Linked DNA regions of Homo sapiens: region 1 is linked to region 2. The links are contacts of gene promoters, found by promoter capture Hi-C in blood cells and fetal thymus (Javierre and others, 2016). All regions are on one chromosome and are shown on one strand. The core of a region is centred on a gene start or on the middle of the fragment in contact, and the rest is flanking DNA. Distances in the headings are between cores, read along the strand shown. Region 1 has its middle 79 kb from the start of EDA2R. Region 2 holds the start of VSIG4 (V-set and immunoglobulin domain containing 4).

Evidence for each region. The method cuts DNA at HindIII sites, captures the fragments that hold promoters and counts their contacts. A CHiCAGO score of 5 or more calls a contact.
Region 1: a fragment that was not itself captured here is called in contact with the fragment with the promoter of VSIG4 in region 2 in 5 of 17 cell types (endothelial precursors, total CD4 T cells, M2 macrophages and 2 more); the score reaches 7.6 in endothelial precursors.

What each region holds. Positions count from the first base shown.
Region 1 is chrX:66,715,259-66,721,022 of GRCh38, forward strand. No RefSeq gene overlaps it. Among named protein-coding and RNA genes, the nearest start is that of EDA2R, 79 kb to the left of the region's middle. RefSeq lists an enhancer at 2,481-3,680. The HindIII fragment of the contact is 1,806 bases long and covers 792-2,597 here.
Region 2 is chrX:66,036,677-66,042,774 of GRCh38, forward strand. It overlaps VSIG4 (V-set and immunoglobulin domain containing 4), which reads right to left and starts at 3,404. Exons shown (of 8, transcript NM_007268.3): 1 at 3,268-3,404. The coding sequence starts at 3,322. The HindIII fragment of the contact is 1,000 bases long and covers 2,901-3,900 here.

The DNA.
Region 1 (5,764 bases), core at 445-2,944, 680 kb after region 2:
ATCCCTTGTAAGTTGGATTCCCAGGTATTTTATTCTCTTTGAAGCAATTGTGAATGGGAGTTCACTCATGATTTGGCTCTCTGTTTGTCTGTTGTTGGTGTATAAGAATGCTTGTGATTTTTGTACATTGATTTTGTATCCTGAGACTTTGCTGAAGTTGCTTATCAGCTTAAGGAGATTTTGGGCTGAGACAATGTGGTTTTCTAGATATACAATCATGTCATCTGCAAACAGGGACAATTTGACTTCCTCTTTTCCTAATTGAATACCCTTTATTTCCTTCTCCTGCCTAATTGCCCTGGCCAGAACTTCCAACACTATGTTGAATAGGAGTCGTGAGAGAGGGCATCCCTGTCTTGTGCCAGTTTTCAGAGGGAATGCTTCCAGTTTTTGCCCATTCAGTATGATATTGGCTGTGGGTTTGTCATAGATAGCTCTTATTATTTTGAAAAAACCACATGATTATCTCAATATATGCAGAAAAATCCTTTGACAAAATTCAACAACCCTTCATGCTAAAAACTCTCAATAAATTAGGTATTGATGGGACGTACTTCAGCTCTTTCTAGAGTACTCTCTTTACTTGGCTTTTGGGACACTGGGTATGCCTAAATTTCCTCCCATATTTCTGTCTGCTCTTTCTCAGTCTCCATTGCCAGTTCATATCCTCCTACTTCTACTGCATGTTTTAATGTTAGAAATCCTCAAGGCTCAGGCCTTGGCTCCCTTCTCTTCTGAAACTATATTATCTCCCTTGGTAATCTCATCTATGTTCCTGGTTGCAACAAGCAAGCTTAACTAAAATTAATATACCATCTATTTCAAAAAGCACCATTATTCTATGTACCTCTAAGAAAGCAAAAAATACATTCCTCCAATTGAACTATAGTATTTCATACTCCACTAATCATCTCACTGTACCCCAAACTTGCTCTTCCTTATAGTATTTCAAACTTAAAGATGGTCACCACCATTCATTTAGTTGCTCAAACTAGAAATCAGAAACCTCTCATGTCCTCTATGCTCTACCTCACCACTTCCTACCTTTCATTTATAATCAATCTCTATGTCCTATTGCTTGTACTTCCTAAATAATCCCTGTATATATCCATTTCTCTGATCTTCATTGCTATGAACCAAATTAAAGCTACAACTTTCCTTTCTTGATTTATCTCAAAAGCCTCCTTACTTGAGGTTTCCCCAATTCTCTGATATGCAGCAAATTGAGTGATCTTTCCAAAGCTCAAATTTGATCAAGTCACGCCCCTCATGAAAAACCTTCAGTAGCTTCACACTAGTCTTAGAAAGGAGTTCAAATTATTCCTGTGGCCTACATAGTCCCTGCCTTTCCTCATGTCACCTTGTCCTATGCTCCATAAGTGTTGACCACACACAGGCCTTTTTTGAACCTCAAATATGTTACCTTTCTCGCTACCTCAGGTCCTTCTGTACATGCTCTCTCCTCCGCCAGGACTCTCTTCTAATTATTTAATTAATTCCTATTTACTCCACAACATTCAACTCAAACATCACCTTTTCAGAGAAATCTTCCATGATTCCAGACTAAGTAATGTTCTATGCTACATGTTCTTATAGTGCAATAGTCTTCTAATTTCTAGAATTTAAAATTGTTAATATCTAATTAACATTAGAGAATTACAAATTAAAGCAACAATGAAATTCTACTGCACATCTATTAGAATGGCACAATACTGACAATGCCAAATGCTATTGAGAATGTAGAGCAACAGAAGCCTTCATTCATTCCTGGTGGGAATGCAAAATGACACAGCCACTGTGGAAGACAGTTTGGCAGTTTCTTACAAAACTAAACATAGTCTTATTGTATGATCCAGCAATCATACTACTAGATATTTACTGAAATGAATTAAAGATTTATGTCTACACAAAATCTGCATATGAATATTTGTTATAAATTTATTCATAATCGACAAAAGTTGGAAGCAACCAAGATATCCTTTCAATAAGTGAATGGGTAAACAAACTGATAAATCCATACAAGATAATATTATTCAACAATGAAAAGAAATGAACTATTAAGCCTCAAGAAGGCAAGGAGAAATCTTAAATGCATATCGGTAAGTGAAAGAACCTGGTCTGAAAATGCTACATGCTATATGATTCCAACTATGTGACATTCTCGATAAGACAAAACTATACTGACTGAAAATCAGTGGTCGTCATGGATAGTAGGAGGATTAAATAGGTGAAACACGGGATTTTTAGAGCAGTGAAACTGTGCTATACTATTATTGTAATAGTAGATACATGGCTTTATGTACTTGGCAAGCCTGGTAGAACTGCACAATACAAAGAATGAGCCATAATGTTAACTATGGGCTTAAGTTTAAATGATGTATCAATGTTGATTCATCAATTGTAACAAATATACCTCAATCAGGCAAGATGTTAATAATAGGGAAACCTGAGAGTGTGGGGCAAGACAATGAGTATATGGAAACTCTGTTCTTTTTGCTCAGTGTTTTGACAAACCTACAGCTCCTCTAAAAACATAAATCTAGTAGTTAAAAAATCATTTACAACTAAAAATGTAATTAATTTAGTGTATAAATCAAAGCTTAATACTGGGCTTGCTACTAGGATGAAAGCTTCATGAAAGTAGTTACTGTGGTAGGGACTGCACCTAGCATAATGCTGGGAACAAAATAGCATATCAGGTAGAATTTGTCAAATCAATAGATAAATTGAGGATTGATGGGATGTAAGAGTTAAGGGATAAGCAGGAATCAAGAATTACAGTCACGTTTTTGGCTTTGGTGACTAATTTGGTGACTAAGTTTATATCTGAGGAAAGGGGGAAATGATGAATTCAGTTTCAGAAGAAGTTTTGATGTGCCTGTGAAACATATGATAGGTATTTTGATATATAGGTCTGGTGTTGGAGAAGCAGCCTGGGCTGTGGACATAAATTTAGTAACCGTCAGCTTCAGGTCTTGGTTTAAGCTAAATAAGGGGATTAAATTAGTCAGGAAATAAGTGTAATATAAGAAGGAGAAGAGGGGTGGCTGGCAAGATGGCCGAATAGGAAGAGCTCCAATCTGCAGTTCCCAGAAAGATCAGCGCAGAAGGCGAGTGATTTCCGCATTTCCACCTGAAGTACCCAGCTCATAACATTGGAACTGGTTAGAAGGTGGGTGCAGCCCACAGAGGGTGAGTAGAAACAGGGTAAGGTGATGCCTCACCTGGGAAGTGCAAGAGGTCGGGGAACTCCCTCCCCTAGCCAAGGGAATTCGTGAAGGCCTGTGCCATGAGGAACGGTGCATTCTGGCCCAAATACTATGCGTTTCCCATGCTCTTCACAATCCACAGACCACAAGATTCCCTCAGGTGCCTACACCACCAGGGACCTGGGTTTCAACCACAAAACTGAGCAGCCATTTGGGCAGACCCTGAGCTAGTGGCAGGAGTTTTTTTCATACCCCAGTGGCGCCTGGAACAACAGCAAGACAGAACTGTTCACTCCCCTAGTAAAGGGTCTGAAGCCAGGGAGCCAAGTGGTCTAGCTCAGTGGAACCCACCCCCACGAAGCCCAGACAGCTAAGATACACTGGCTTGAAATTCTTGCTGCCAGCACAGCAGTCTGAAGTCTAAAGTTGACCTGAGATGCTTGAGCTTGGTGGGGGGAGGGGGCGTCCACCATTACTGAGGGTTGAGTAGGTGATTTCCCCCTCACAGTGTAAAAAAGCTTCCAGGAAATTCAAACTGGGCGGAGCCCACCACAGCTCAGCAAAGCCTCTGTAGCCAGACTGCCACTCTATATTCCTCTTCTCTGGGCAGGGCATCTCTGAAAGGTAGGCAGCAGCCCCTGTCAGGGGCTTATAGATGAAACTCCCATCTCCCTGGGACAGAGCACCTGTGAAAAGGGGTGGCTGTGAGTGCACCTTCAGCAAACTTAAACGTTTCTGCCTGCCAGCTCTGGAGAGAGCAGTGGATCTCAAAGCACAGTGCTCAAGCTCTGCTAAGGGACAGACTGCCTCCTCAAGTGGGTCCCTGACCCCTGTGACACCTGACTGGGAGACACCTCCCAGCAGGAGTCGACAGACACTTCATACAGGAGAGCTCCAGACGGCATTTGGTGGGTGCCCTTCTGGGACAAAGCCTCCAGAGGAAGGGATAGGCAGCAATCTTTGCTGTTCTGCAGCCTCCACTGGTGATACCCAGGCAAACAGGTTCTGGAGTGGACGTCCAGCAAACTCCAGCAGACCTGCAGCAGAGGGGCCTGACTGTTTAGAACGAAAACGAACAAATGGAAAAGATAGCATCAACATCAATGAAAAGGATGTCCACACAGAAACCCCATCCGAAGGTCATCAGCATCAAAGACCAAAGGTAGATAAATCCACGAAGATAAGGAAAAACCAGCACAAAAAGGCTGAAAATTTCAAAAATCAGAACACCTCTTCTCCTCCAAAGGATAGCAACTACTCAATAGCAAGGGAACAAAACTGGACAGAGAATAAGTTTGATGAATTGACAGAAGTAGGCTTCAGAGGTGGGTAATAACAAACTCCTCCGAGCTAAAGAATCATGTTCTAACCCAATGCAAGGAAGCTAAGAACCTTGAAAAAAGGTTAGAAGAATTGCTAACTACAGTAACCAGTTTAGAGAAAAACATAAATGACCTGATGGAGCTGAAAAACACAGCGTGAGAACTTCGTGAAGCATACAAAAGTATCATTAGCCAAACTGATTAAGCAGAAGAAAAGATATCAGAGATTGAAGATCAACTTAATGAAATAAAGCGTGACGACGAGATAAAAAAGAAAAAACAAAAACAACAACAAAAAAATGAACAAAGCCTACAAGAAATATGGGACTATGGGAAAAGACCAAACCTACGTTTGATTGGTACACTGGAAAGTGACAGGGATAATGGAATGAAGTTGGAAAACACTCTTCAGTATATTGCCCAGGAGAACATCCCCAACTTAGGAAGACAGGCCAAAATTTAAATTCAGGAAATACAGAGAACACCACAAAGATACTCCTAGAGAAGAGCAACCACAAGACACATAATCATTAGATTCGCCAAGGTCAAAATGAAGGAAAAAATGGTAAGGGCAGCCAGAGAGAAAGGTCGGGTTACCCACAAAGGGAAGCCCATCAGACTAACAACTGATCTCTCTGCAGAAACCCTACAACCCAGAAGAGAGTGGGGGCCAATATTCAACATTCTTAAAGAAAAGAATTTTCAACCCAGAATTTCATATCCTTCCAAACTAAGCTTTGTAAGTGAAAGAGAAATAAAATCCTTTACAGACAAGCAAATTCTAAGAGATTTTGTCACCACCAGGCCTGCCTTATAAGAGCTCCTGAAGGAAGCACTAAATATGGAAAGGAAAAATAGGTACCAGCCACTGCAAATACATATCAAATTGTAAAGACTATTGACACTGTGAAGAAACTGCATCAACTAACCGTCTTAATGACAGAATCAAATTCACAAATAACAATATTAACCTTAAATGTAAATGGGTTAAATGCCCCAATTAAAATACACAAATGGACAACTTGAATAAATATTCAAGACCCATCAGTGTGCTGTATTCAGGAGACCCATCTCATGTGCAAAGACACATATAGGCTCAAAATGAAGAGATGGAGGAATATTTACCAAGCAAATGGAAAGCAAAACAAAGCAAGGGTTGCAATCCTAGTCTCTGATAAAACAGACTTTAAACCAACCAAGATCAAAAACGACAAAGCAGGACATTACATAATG
Region 2 (6,098 bases), core at 2,154-4,653:
TATAATACGATATATTATTAATATATTATAATTATATAATATATATATTATATAATTATAATATATTAATAATATATAATATAATATAATATATATTATATTATATTATATATAATATAATATATTATATAATATTATATATTATTATATATATAATATGTTATATAATATATTATATATATAATAATATATTATATTATATATTATATTATATATTTTATTATATAATATATTATATGATATATTATATTATATGATATATTATATGATATATTATATTATATTATATAATATATAATATAATATATCATATAATATAATATATCATATAATATATCATATAATATAATATATAATGTAATATAATATATCATATAATATATATTATATAATAATATAATATATCATATAATATATATTATATAATAATATAATATAATATAAAATATTATATAATAATATAATATAATATATAATATATATTATATAATAATATAATATAATATATAATATATAATATATAATAATATAATATAATATATAATATATATTATATAATAATATAATATAATATATAATATATATTATATAATAATATAATATAATATATAATATATATTATATAATAATATAATATATAATATATATTATATAATAATATAATATAATATATAATATATATTATATAATAATATAATATAATATATAATATATATTATGTAATAATATTAATATATAATATATATCATATAATAATATAATATATAATATAATTATATAATAATATAATATATATAATAATTATATAATACAATATATAATATATATTATATAATAATAATATAATATAATATATTCATAATATATTATATTATATTATATATTTATATACTTATTATATTATATTACTTCCTTTATTATTACTTCCACTTTACTGATAATTACTTATATATAATATATAATAATTATATAATTATTACTGATAATTACTTATATATAATATATAACATTATATTATATTATACTTATTACTGATAAGTATATATACTTATTACTAAGTATATAAACTTATTACTGATACGTATATATACTTATTGCTGATAAGTATATATACTTATTGCTGATAAGTATATATACAGTATTGAGCTTAATGTGGTCCTGAGACCCAGCCTTATAAAAGCAAATGTCTGATGCCTGTGTAATGGCACTGAAGAAAAGAAAGGTTGAATTTACTAGGTGTGTGCTCCTTTATAAGACCCATTCTAGGTCTCTTTCTGAATCCCCTTCCTCCCATCATCACAAAGAGGTTGACATTTTCCATATCTCTATCCCATTCCCCCACATGACTGGCTTCTCTCCCTTTCCTGGAATGCCTCCTGGATGGAGGATTAACTTATATAATAGATGTTTATAAAATGTTTCTGAAATGTTTAAAATGTATATAAAATGTGAATATTAGAAATTTTTTAAATTTTGATTATCTTGACATATCTCTTAGCCCCACAGGAAGAGGCTAGCAGCTTACTCTGGCCGCTACAGGGTTTTTAGCAGTGAAGCTGCAGTCCCACAGAGTTGTCCAGCTGAGAAACCCCTTTAAGACCAGTCAAGTCAACCTCCTCACTGTACAGATGGGCTAGGAACAATGAGGTCCAGGGAGAGGGAAGGTATTATTTGCAGCTCAGCATAACCTGAGCCTGAGGTCTATAGTATAAGATCCTGTGTACAAATGGAAGGCCTGCTTCCAGGTCTGGAAAAGCTCATAGGCTGGGGAAGGAACAAGACACATGAGTGCTCTCTCTCTCTCTCACACACACACACACACACACACACATGAATGCACACACACATACACACACACAAACAAAGGATTTAAATTTAACATTTCTAAAATGCTCCCTCAAGCCCCAGGCTTAAGCCCTAGCTCAAACCAACAGACTTGGAGAAGGTAGAGAGATACATTATAAAACCTGCTAGAGAATGGAAATGTGGTAGTTATAGAAAGAAAAATGTTTTTTCAGGAGCATTAACTCTGCCACTAATGCTCTTTGGCTTGGGGGCAAATTATTTTTTCTCTTGGTTGACTTAATTCAGAGTCTTTTCTAACTCTGAGGTTCCAGAGTGTGATGGGTCACAGAGCCCCAGGATAGGGTAACCTAATCAGAGTCAGCTACGGAAAGCTGGATTCTTTCTGACCTAACAAGTGACACCAAGCTAACACCTATCCAGCCTTTTTCTCTAGGGATGATAGGGAAGCAGCAAAATCCCCCTTTACCCTATATTGGATCTCACTTAGCTGTTACCCAGGTTGAGTTTCCTGAAAATCCATCTCACTTCTCAGGAGTGTAGATGAGGATAGAGCTTCCCAAGCTCCAAGGAAATAATGCCACTATGGAATAGTCCATCCTCCTTTGGGATTTGTATCCAGCCCATAAATAGCCCAGACAAATTGAGCCATGTCTATAGGGAAGTGAGTTATCCCAGGAATGGGTAAGAAACCAAGTCCTATGAAGACCAGTTGAAAAAGCTGGGGCTGTTCAGCTTGGAGGAGAGAAGAGTCAAGGAGACATAGTACTTGTCCTCAGGGCTTTGAAGGGCTATCACAGGGCAAGGAAGCATCTATGTTCTGTGTAGCCCCAAGAAGCAAAGCTGGGGTTTTTGGATGGAAGTCAGAGGGAACTGGATTTAGTTCAACACAAATAAGAACTTTCTAACAGTTGGAGCTGCTCCTGGATGGACTAGATGGTCTGGGGAGGTAGTGAACAGTGAAATCTCAATCACTACTGGATGTTTCTGAGCACTTATTCATGACAATGAAGGGTGGTATAGGTTACTTCTATAGTCCTATCCAACTCTTAGAAAACACTCCTTCTTCGGGGGCTGTATATTTTAACAGAGACCAAAGCTTGGAAGCAGAGTGGTTAAGTCCAATTGTAGAATTTTAGATGAGAGACAGCAGATGGAGGAAAGATTCGGATGTCATTGGGAACCTTCTTGATGCCCCTGAGATACAAGCCCTAGAAAATAATGCAGATGTTTTCCAAGAGAAAAATCCTTTTTCAATTTCTGCCCAAACTTGCCTTCTGGCTTCTTCAGCAGCCTTCAACTACATCCATCCGTTTTGCTCAAGGCTGAGAGAGCCTGCAGAGTTTGGCTGAGAAGACTCACCTGCCCAGTAGGAATAGGCTTTCCATAGTAGACATTAAACACCAACCCTCTAGCCTTTTGCCTAAGCCAGCAATGGCAGCCAGGCCCCCCTTTCTGCCTTACCATAAGTGTCCACTGTTAGGTGCCCCAGGAGTAGCAGGCCCAGTAAGATCCCCATCACAGCCAGAGCTACTTCTGTCCTTTCTTCCAGCCTCCTGCTACCAAAGAGGCTCAAACTTCTGGTGGCCGCCAGCGTCTGTGACTGCTTACTTCCCTTCCTTCCCTATATCTCTCACTCAAACTCCTAGTCCCATCACACATTCCCCTTCCTTCCCTATTTCAGTACAGGTCATGTGGGGTGCCCCCCTTCCCCCACCTCCTTGGGGTTGGAGGTTCCAGGATGAGTGAAGCAATTCTTCCCCCTGCTAGGGTATTGACTTGACTTTCCTTGGAGCCAATGGGGCTTTCTGGTCTTTGATCTCCTAGGCTGTATTTATTTTGAGTCTCCTCCACAAGATTCAGAGGTTGTGGGGGCGACCTTTGGGATGAGTCTTCCCACTCCAGTATGGCGGTGTTTTCCTTTGTGGTGAGCCCAGGGAGAAGAGATCAACTTTGCTGACCTACCCAATTTTCATTAGTTGTACTGTTAACCCTTGCCTGTGCAGCCTATGCAACTGGACAGGGTGTTGGGCCCGGGGTGCTTTTGGGCTTAAGAGTACAAGAGTTTAGTGTATTAAAGGGCTTTCTACACATCAAAGCTTGAATAATTGACAAGCCAATGGATAAGGCTGTTATGGGTGAATATGCCTCATATCTCATATTGGGGAAGCTCTTTGAATCACTTTCTACAATGGCTCCACCTCTCTGATGGTAAGGGAGAATTCATTTTCATTAATGTTCTCCATGCTTTTTCATAAGGAATTTATTTTTTACTTCTTTTAAGGGAAATTTAAGCCTAGCCTCCAGTGCAGCAGCCCATTAGTGGTATGCTGTATTAGGTTGAATTTTTCATTGACTTCCAATTGGTACAGGCCCTTGACCTACAAGAGAGTAATATTATGCCTCCTAGCAAAGCTCAACTGCTCCAGAAATTGCTCCTCTTCACAGGCCCCAGAGTGACTGTAATTTCATCAGCAGTCTAACTAGGTTTGGCACTGCGCTTTGTCTACTAAGCTTTGAAACAATAAGCACTTTCAAAAGCACAAATACATCCCAAAAATTCATACTGCACTGTAAGTAACAGCTAAGCTTAGTTTACTCTTTGATTGGAGGGATAGGAAAGGACTTGGTCAGGGGAGGGAGGAGTTTGTGCAGAGATGGGGAGTGGGAATATAAAGAAACATACTTGCCAAGGGGTGGCTGCATGCAGATGATTTGGAGCTGTGCACGGGCTAAGGAGACATTCCAGCATTTCAGGACACATTATTACATGGAATTCTATCAATCACCTCTGCCTCTAGGGCCCAATCCCCCTTGGCTGGTTGTTCCTTGTTTTTTGAGTACTGCACTCATTCCATCTCACTGGAAATTTCAGCCATTTTTTCCCACCGGGTCCTCACTCAGGAAACCCTGAACTTCACAGAACCCTCCTTTGATATTTTTCAACCAACACCCTATCACCACTACACCACCACCACCGCACAGACACACACACACACACACACACACACACGCACACACATACACACACACACACCCCTCCCCTTCCCCGCTAAAAAGCCCACTGGACAGATGTAAATTTCTGCCTGGCCAGGTGATTGTGTGTTTTGTGCTACCTCTTGCATTTTATTAGGACCTCCTGGATCTGAAGATAAATAAATGTCCTGGGGAGTATGCACAACATTACTTCAAGGCTGGGAAAGACTTCCAGTCTTGCAGTAGGCTCAGTAGCCCTCTTGATTAGTAAAAGAATTGGATGAGAAGTCAGAAACCTGGAGATAAGCCTGGCTCTGTGTCTACTTCATTCTGAGATCTTGAACAAGTCAAATCTCTCTGAACCTCAGCTTCCCTAATTGTAACATGAACATAATTATACTTGATGCTTGTATCTTTTCAGATTTATAAAAATCAAACTATACTATACATACAATAACAACTATATAATGATAGTTGCTATTTAAAATCTTTTACTCTTCCAGTCACTGAATTAAGCACCTTGCATGGGTTATTTCCCTTGGTTCTTACAACCCCTCAGGTGGGTATTATTGCACATACTCTTGTATCTCTCCCTACCACTCTATACTCCCTTACACTACTTTTCTTTTTCATTGTAGAGCCCACATATTTGTTGAATGAATGAATTCAATATATCCCCATTTTACAAATGTGTCTAAAACCCAGAATGGTGAAATCACTTACTTTTATAGAGGGTGCCTAGACAAGATTCAAACTCCTAGCTATATGCCTCCAGAAATGATACTGTTAAGTAACACACTATTCTGCTTCATTCACACCTTTAATGACCACTTCTACAATAGTTCCAGGTCTTTTCTGGATGTTGTGAGGGAGAGAAAAGAAATGTTAGGTATGGTCCCTGTATAAGTGAGATTTTAGTGTAAAGGAAAGACAAACACATATGAACCACTAATACAAGGTGAATTATTAACTGAGCTGTAAAACTTGTGGTTTGGGCAGTATTTAGTGAAGGAAATAGTAGCGTGGGAAGGCTTCCCAGGTAAAGTGATACTAAAACTACCATTTGTAGAACTCCTGCTCTGTGCTGTGCACATTATCCCTAGGCCTTACCTCACAAGGAAGACATTATGAATAACCTTTCCTTATTGAGAGAACTGAGGTCTGGAGGTACCGTGGAACCTGCCCATGGTCACACAACTGATAAATGACAGAAGTGTAATTTACCATCCAAGTTGGTGTTTCAAAAAATTGTACCTTTGATACTCCATGCACCAGGGCATGAGCCAGAAAAGATGAAGTGGTTGAAGAGGAGAGAGATG